Regions from separate parts of the Homo sapiens genome. Here region 2 is linked to region 1. The links are contacts of gene promoters, found by promoter capture Hi-C in blood cells and fetal thymus (Javierre and others, 2016). All regions are on one chromosome and are shown on one strand. The core of a region is centred on a gene start or on the middle of the fragment in contact, and the rest is flanking DNA. Distances in the headings are between cores, read along the strand shown. Region 1 holds the start of TSG101 (tumor susceptibility 101). Region 2 has its middle 29 kb from the start of TMEM86A.

The links. The method cuts DNA at HindIII sites, captures the fragments that hold promoters and counts their contacts. A CHiCAGO score of 5 or more calls a contact.
Region 2: a contact is called between a fragment that was not itself captured here and the fragment with the promoter of TSG101 in region 1, in 1 of 17 cell types (naive CD4 T cells). The highest score is 6.5, in naive CD4 T cells.

Annotation. Positions count from the first base shown.
Region 1 is chr11:18,524,605-18,528,608 of GRCh38, reverse strand. It overlaps TSG101 (tumor susceptibility 101), which reads left to right and starts at 1,667. Exons shown (of 10, transcript NM_006292.4): 1 at 1,667-1,834. The coding sequence starts at 1,793. RefSeq lists an enhancer at 1,398-1,507. The HindIII fragment of the contact is 722 bases long and covers 1,202-1,923 here.
Region 2 is chr11:18,667,574-18,671,577 of GRCh38, reverse strand. No RefSeq gene overlaps it. Among named protein-coding and RNA genes, the nearest start is that of TMEM86A, 29 kb to the left of the region's middle. RefSeq lists an enhancer at 2,621-3,122. The HindIII fragment of the contact is 8,479 bases long and covers 1-4,004 here.

The sequences.
Region 1 (4,004 bases), core at 418-2,917:
ACCAGCCTGGCCAACATAGTGAAATCCTGTCTCTACTAAAAATACAAAAAATTAGCTGGGTGTGGTGGTGGGCACCTGTAATCCCAGCTACTCGGGAGGCTTAGGCAGGAGAATCGCTTGAACCCGGGAGGCAGAGGTTGCAGTGAGCCAAGATCACACTATCGCACTCCAGCCTGGGAAGCAAGAGCAAAACTCTGTCTCAAAAAAAAAAAAAAAAAAAAAAAAAAAAAATATATATATATATATATATATATATATATATATATGTAAAATTTATTTTAATATTTATAAATGTTGCATTTATAAAATATATAAATAATATATATTACCTGGCATTCCTCCAACTCACAAAGGTACAGTTGCTCTAATTAAAGGGACTCCTGGTTAAGCCGTGGCTTTAAGAACAGTTTGAAAACCTTCTTGCTTTTAAAAGACATAAAACAGCAAGTAAAATGGAAGGACAGACAGACCTCTAGTTTGGTTTGACTGGAGCTGTATGCTTAACTAAGGAGCTGAAAAACAGAGGCGGAGGTTGCAGTGAGCCGAGATGGTGCTACTGCACTCCAGCCTGGGCGATGGAGTGAGAGTGACTCAAAAAAAAAAAAAAAAGAAAAAGAAAAAGAAAAACAATACCTATTAATAGCCTTTATTTGTGCGTGTTAGCAACAGTTTATAATGATGCTTCCACATGCTTTCAGTTAGGCCCTCCTTGTGAATGTGACCTTCACTTAGACGCCAACTTTGAAGGGAATCAATACTACGGCCTTGTTCTCATTAGGGCTGTACTAAAATAATTGAAACTGTCACACATCATCAAACTCAAAATTTTACAATACCTTGAATGACACTGTGCTTACAAAACTGACGGTGATGTGTAATGATGACTAATGTAAGTCACCATGAAGAATTTTTATGGGAAGTAAAAATTCAATTAAGATGGAAGTACCTACCCTTGCATTGTGCAAGGCAATGAAGATCTGAAGGAAGCCTGCCTTCAAGGGCTTGGATTTTGACAGCGGACAGGTACACAAATACAGCACCAGGTAAAATACGGCCTGTATTATCATTTATGGGTGGGTACAGAGGAGAAATTCTGACTTACGGAATGATTTCCTGGAGAAGAAATTACTATCTGGCTTCTTGTGAAACAAAGGCTCTACACTTTACCCTTGCCAACGTATAGTATGAAGGTCTTTAAGCTTAAAAAAAATCATTAATTAGAGGACCACTGGGCATCATCTAAGGCAAGTGTATGACTTTAGAGTCGGGAGAAATTTGCGCCTGAGCTAGAAATGCACTAGCCTACCATTATCACAAGAGCAAGTCAGTGACAGAACAGTTCTCTGACCGCCAGTGCAGTGCCCTCCCACTTGATCAATCAGTCATTAAGGCTCACTGGCAAGCCCTTCGTACTTCTTCCCTCTCCGGCACTAGCTTCCTTAAGTCGACTCTGTGAAATACCTGCTAATCTTATCCTGAACCAGAGTTTCGACCCTCGGAACAGTCTTGCCCACATCTTTGGGACCCGATTCGTCCTGCTGATTCCGGCACTCGAGGGGCGGGTTGGTTGGAACCCACCCCACCAGGCCCCTCTCAATCCCACACGGTGTCCACCCTTGCCCGCAGGACGGCGGCCCGGAAGTGACGTAGTGGAAGCGGAAGTGGTGTAGTGGTGCCGACTTCCTGTTGTTTGAGGCCGGGTTGGGGGTGTGCGATTGTGTGGGACGGTCTGGGGCAGCCCAGCAGCGGCTGACCCTCTGCCTGCGGGGAAGGGAGTCGCCAGGCGGCCGTCATGGCGGTGTCGGAGAGCCAGCTCAAGAAAATGGTGTCCAAGGTGAGGCTGCGACGCGCTCGCCTCCCAGGGCGCGCCCACCGCTCCCTTCCGCGCCCTGTCGAGTCCGTCCCGGCCCAGCCAAGCAAGCTTCCCAGACGGGCCGGAAGCCCCGGTGCAGTCCTTAGCGACCTCCTCAGAACCCCGCCCCGAGGCGCCTGTCGCCTGGTGCGGGAATCCCCGTACGGGAGCTGGGAGGGTGGGGGACGGCGACAGTCAACAAAGGCGTGGAGCGGAGGCTACCTGACACCTGCCGCCCACCCGCCCTCCTCTCTTCCACTGAGTTTGGAGCTGTCTGTGGGGCAGTGTAGTTTTTCGTTTGTTTTTATAAACACAAACAAGGGATCATACTTAGTTGTAGATCTGAGGCAATCCTCTACTCCTGTCCCAATCTAGGGATCCTCCAGTCTTAGCCTTTCTTTTGCCGACCCGCAGAGAGTGTGGCCTTTTCAGTTTTGTATTCTCCAGAAAAGAAGCGAAAATACCAGTCCCTTACTGCCCCAGGTGAAATACATACCATTACCATTTCAGGGATTTTCTAAGAGTAACTACTTTTAAGTGTATGCTTCTTATAACGCGTATTTATTTGCTTTGAGCTTAATTTATGATCTTCACGGCTCAAGACTAGTGTTTTTTTTTTCAATTTTTAAAAAAGCAGTTAAGCATTTTGTATTTTAAAGCCATGATTTATTTATATAATTACTTCAAACGTGGCACCTCACACCAGAGTGGAATGGCTTTTGTTATGTTTTGTTGTAATTTTCCAAAACTATGTAAAATGATTGAGAGTTGAGTCTTGACCAGTTCAACGTGTTAGCTTGGGATAGTTTTGTCAAAGCAAGAATGGTAGCAATCAGCGGTTTAAGCGGTTTCAATTTTTAATAAAACACACTATTATGTGTAAAACTTTTTTAAAAACAGACTTTTTCCAGTTAAATCGCCCCCATAGTTCTTGATTGAAGACCAAATAATCTCTAAGGAGAAAATGACAGCTTTCAAAATAAAGCATATATTGGTTGTGTAATCGTATATTTTAGGCTTCTTGGTTTTGTTTTGATAAACTTGTTATCCTTAGTTATAGAAGACATATGGGAAGCCATAGAAGATTGTGACCCAGGTAAAGATCCATGTTGTAACTTTTATATATCACTTTTTGAAAAAAACGGTATATTGTTTTACATAGTATGTAACTGAAGAGTATCTGTTCCATGACTCTTTTTTTTTTTTTTTTTTTTTTAGAGTCTTGCTCTGTCACCCAGGCTGGAGTGCAGTGGCACGATCTTGGCTCACTGCAATCTCCGCCTCCCAGGTTCAAGCGATTCTCCTGCCTTAGCCTCCCAAGTAGCTGGGGATTACAGGTGCCCACCACTTCACACAGCTGATTGTTGTATTTTTAGTAGAGACGGGATTTCACCATGTTGGCCAGGCTGGTCTTAAACTCCAGACCTCAGTGATCCACCGCTTTGGCTTCCCAAAATGATGGGAATACAGGCGTGAGCCACCACACCTGGCCTCCATGACATTTTTGATCTTTAAATTGATAGCATAGTCATTAAGATTTAGTCCTTGGGCTGGGCGCAGTGGCTTACGCCTGTAATCCTAGCACTTTGGGAGGCCAAGGCGGGTGGATCACCTGAGGTCACGAGTTCAAGACCAGCCTGATCAACATGGTGAAACCCCGTCTCCTAAAATACAAAAATTAGCCGGGCATGATGGCGGGTGCCTGTAATCCCAGCCTACTCGGGAGGCTGAGATGGGAGAATCGCTTGAACCTGGGAGACGGTGGTTGCAGTGAGTCGAGATCAGGCCACTGCACTCCAGCCTGGGTGGCTGAGCAAGACTCCATCTCAAAAAAAAAAAAAAAAAGATTTATTCCTTAATGTATGTATATTCATATAAAGAGCAAGAATATTCAAATATTAGCTTATTTTTTATACCCTAATTAAGTTTCCTAAGCTTCCCTAGAGAAACCTGCCATCAAAGACAAAGGCAAGGCATGTTCAGAAGATATTTTATACCTCTACCTGCCTTCCCCTCCACCCAACCTGTGATTACTTTAGAAACAAAAACAGAGGTAGGGAAGAGGTGGGAGAGGGCATCCTACCTGCCTTTTGGTCCTTGACTCAATATCTGGAAAATTGAGACTCCTGTATGTGATTATGACGATTCTGAG
Region 2 (4,004 bases), core at 447-2,946, 140 kb before region 1:
CTGAGCCAAGTAAGACACCTTCTTTATTCCATTATCTCATAACTCCATTATCCTCAATTCTCACTTTCTTGTCATATAGTAGCATCACCAGGTTACATGGTGACTCACCTTCCAGTGCCCTTGCATTTGCTCCACAAGCTGCCTTAGGTTCCACCTGGCCTCCAACCCCCACACCTCCTACAGATTTGAGCATGCCCTCCTCGGGGCCCTCCAGCCCCCTTTAATCAAGATATGAAAGACAGACAGACACTAATATTTAATAAAACAGTTAAAACTGTAGGCTCTGAGGCCAGAATGTCACAGTTCTATCCTCTGCTAATTCCCTGACTTTAGGCAAGTAATTCAGCCTACCTGTGCTTCAGTTTCCTTATCTGGAAAACAAGGTCATTACATGAGTTAGTCTACCCATAGTACTTGGAACAGTGTCTAGCACATTACAAACATTCAGTAATTGTTACCATAATTAATACCCTGTCTCGGGCACAATGCTAAGTGCTTCATATGTAGTATCTTATGTAATTTTGATGTCAACCCTGTGAAACAGAATTGTCATCTCCTATTACATATAAGCAACATCCCTGGTCACTGTATCATTTTATCTTATTTTATTGTTTTTGTTTGTTTTTTGTTTTGAGACAGGGTCTCACTCTGTTGCCCAGGCAGGAATGCAGTGACACCATCACGGCTCACTGCAGCTTCCACCTCTCGGGCTGAGGTGATACCTCCTGCCTCAGCCTCCCAAGTAGCTGGGACCACAGGTGCACACCACCACACCAGCTAATTTTTTGTTTATAGTAGAGACAAGGTCTCACTATGTTTCCCAGGCTGGTCTCAAACTCCTGGGCTCAAGAGATCCTCCTGCCTTGGTTGGGGTTACAGGCGTGAGCCACCATACCCAACCATCTTATCTTATTGTCTTTTTAGTATCTACTACCATTTCCATATTACACCATTTATTAGTTTTCTTGTTTATTGTGTCTCCCCAACAACCCTGCATGCCTGAAAGTTCTAAGAGATAAAGAGACTTTGTCTTGTTCACCACAAAATTGCAGTGCCTAGTAGTAAATTCTCAATAAATATTTTTGAATACATGTATCATCAAATGAATGAAAAGGAGAGGTGAGGCCAGATGTGATGGCTCACGCCTGTTACCCCAGAACTTTGGGAGGCCGAGGTGGGTGGATCACCTGAGGTTAGGAGTTTGAGACCAGCCTGGACAACATGGCAAAACCCCGTCTCTACAAAAAATACAAAAAATTAGCCGGGCGTGGTGGCAGGCGCCTGTAGTCCCAGCTACTTGGGAGGCTGAGGCAGGAGAATGGCGTGAACCCGGGAGGCGGAGCTTGCAGTGAGCGGAGATTGCGCCACTGCACCCAGCCTGGGCGACAGAGCGAGACTCCATATCAAAATAAAATAAAATAAAATAAAATGAGAGGTGAACTTGCTAGGACAAGGTCACACAGCAAGTAAGTGACAGAACCAGATTTGACATCAGGTCTAGATGGTTCTAAAAATCAATATTTACTTCTGCTTCCCAGAGCAGCCACAGCTGGGGGGAAAAAGCTGTAGAGGGCAGGGAGAGGGAGTGGACAACATTCAGCTCCCTAAGCCAGCGCTTCCCCTCTCTCCTCCCATTGGTCAAGTGACATCACAGCTGGCGGAGTCGACATTGATATCCAAGGTGCTTTATGGACTAGCAACCCAGCTCCAGGTTGCACTTACAACCTCTTATGTCTCCACATCTAAGGGAGAGTAAATCTGTCTGATAAATCCCTGGGAGTTACGTCATTGATTAAAGGCTATGTGCATCTCTTCTTTTGATATTAATCCAAAGAGGATGCACCAGTCTCTACTCACATAGTATTTTCTCACACTTTCACAACAGAGTACTAGTAATCTTTTTTGATATTTTAATTTTTGCCAGTCTGAGAGATGCAGCTGGAGACTGCAATATTCTAAACCTCCCCAAATTGCTCCCGGGGATAACATCTTAGGTTACAGTAAAACCTAAGATCAGTGCTTGAGATAGTTTGCAGATCCTGTACTCGATGGATCAGCTGACACCACCCAGATCAATAAACTGGCTCATCTGGTCTTGTGGCCCCCACCCAGGAACTGACTCAGCGCAAGAGGACAGCTTCAGCTCCCTATGATTTCATCTCCAACCTGACCAATTAGCATTCCCCACTTCCTGAGACTCTACCCACCAAATTAACCTTAAAAACTCCAGTCCCTGAATTTCTGTGACCAGTCTCTGCTCTACATAGTATTTTCTCACACTTCCACAACACAGTATTAGTAATCTTTTTCATATTTAAATTTTTGCCAATCTGAGAGATGGAAAAGAACTCATTTTAGGTTGACTAATTCAATTATGAGTAGGACTATGCATTTTTTTCTTTTTCTTTTTTTTCTTTGTTTCTTTTTTTCTGAGGCAGAGTTTCACTTTTGTCCTCCAGGCTGGAGAGCAATGGCACGATCTTGGCCCACTGAAACCTCCGCGTCCCGGGTTCAAGTGATTCCCCTGCCTCAGGCTCTTGAGTAGCTGGGATTACATGTGCCCACCACCACGCCCAGCTAATTTTTTGTATTTTTAGTAGAGATGGGGTTTCACCGTGTTGGCCACGCTGGTCTCGAACTCCTGACCTCAGGTGATCCGCCTGCCGGAGCCTCCCAACGTGCTGGGATTACAGGCGTGAGCCACTGCGCCCAGCCCGTCTTTTCTTGTTTATTAGCCATGTATAAGCTGTTTGTCTGTGAGCTGCCTGTTCCTGTCTTTTGCTAATTTGATTTGAGATTCTGCATGAGGACCTAGAGCGGCCCCAAAGTCCCACACCCGTCCGCTCTTCTCTCCCCACTATCAGCCCCTCCCCCTGCTCTGCTCGGTTCTCTACTGCTGCCTAGTGACAGGGGTTAGTCTTACCACAGGCCTCACAGACGCAACTACTGCCTGCCTCTCCCTGAGGATAAATTTCCTGCTGGAATCATGCCCTTGATTCCTAGGTGGGATTGCCAGGTGTAGTTAATAAGAATGCAGGACCTCCCGTTAAGTTTTTAGGATTGCCAGGTTTAGTTAATAAGAATGCAGGATCTCCCGTTAAGTTTGAATTTCAAACAAGCAAGTACCTTTTTAGTTGTGACATACTTTTATCCAAATTTAACTGAGTGTCCTGTAATATATCTGGCAACCCTATTCCAAGGCTTCCCATTAAATTTCAGTCCCCACCCTCCACCATTCCTCACTGGCTCTCATTCTCAGCAAGTTCCATTCTACTACATTCCTCCCCAGTGGTTTCCTAAATGGCACGGTTAGGCGGTACATGAATCACCGTTGTTAAGACCTTGTCTCTGGCTCAATCCTGGGTTTGAATCCTAGCTCCAAACACTTTGCTAATTTCTTTTAAAACTGTATCTAGTCAGAACTTAATCATTTTATTGCATATGTTTTTACAGTTGCCTTCTATTTAAGTCGAGTGATAGTGAATTCCCAGATTTCTTTTTAAAACAGATTTAAGGCCAGGCACGGTGGCTCACGCCTGTAATCCCAACACTTTGGGAGGCCAAGGCGGGTGGATCACGAGGTCAGGAGTTCAAGACCAGCCTGGCCAAGATGGTGAAACCCCATCTCTACTAAAAATACAAAAATTAACTGGGTGCAGTGGCAGGCTGAGGCAGGAGAATCGCTTGAACCCAGGAGGCAGAGTTTGCAGTGAGCCAAGATCGCACCACTGCACTCTAGTCTGGGCGACAGAGCAAGACTCCGTCTCAAAAAAAAAAAAAATGAAAAAAAAATTTAATCTTTAAAAACCTGAAGAAAAGGGATTGAATAGTACAGATAATAAGTGGAAATGGCAAAAGTCATAAGGCAGCTTCTGAAATGATTAAAGTTTGGGAAATACTGTCCTGTTCCCATCCTGGGAGTCAACACAGATCAGCACAGTGCTGACTGAAATAATGTGCTCCTTTTGTAGCAGGACAAGCTGTAGACAAAACCCCTCAGACAC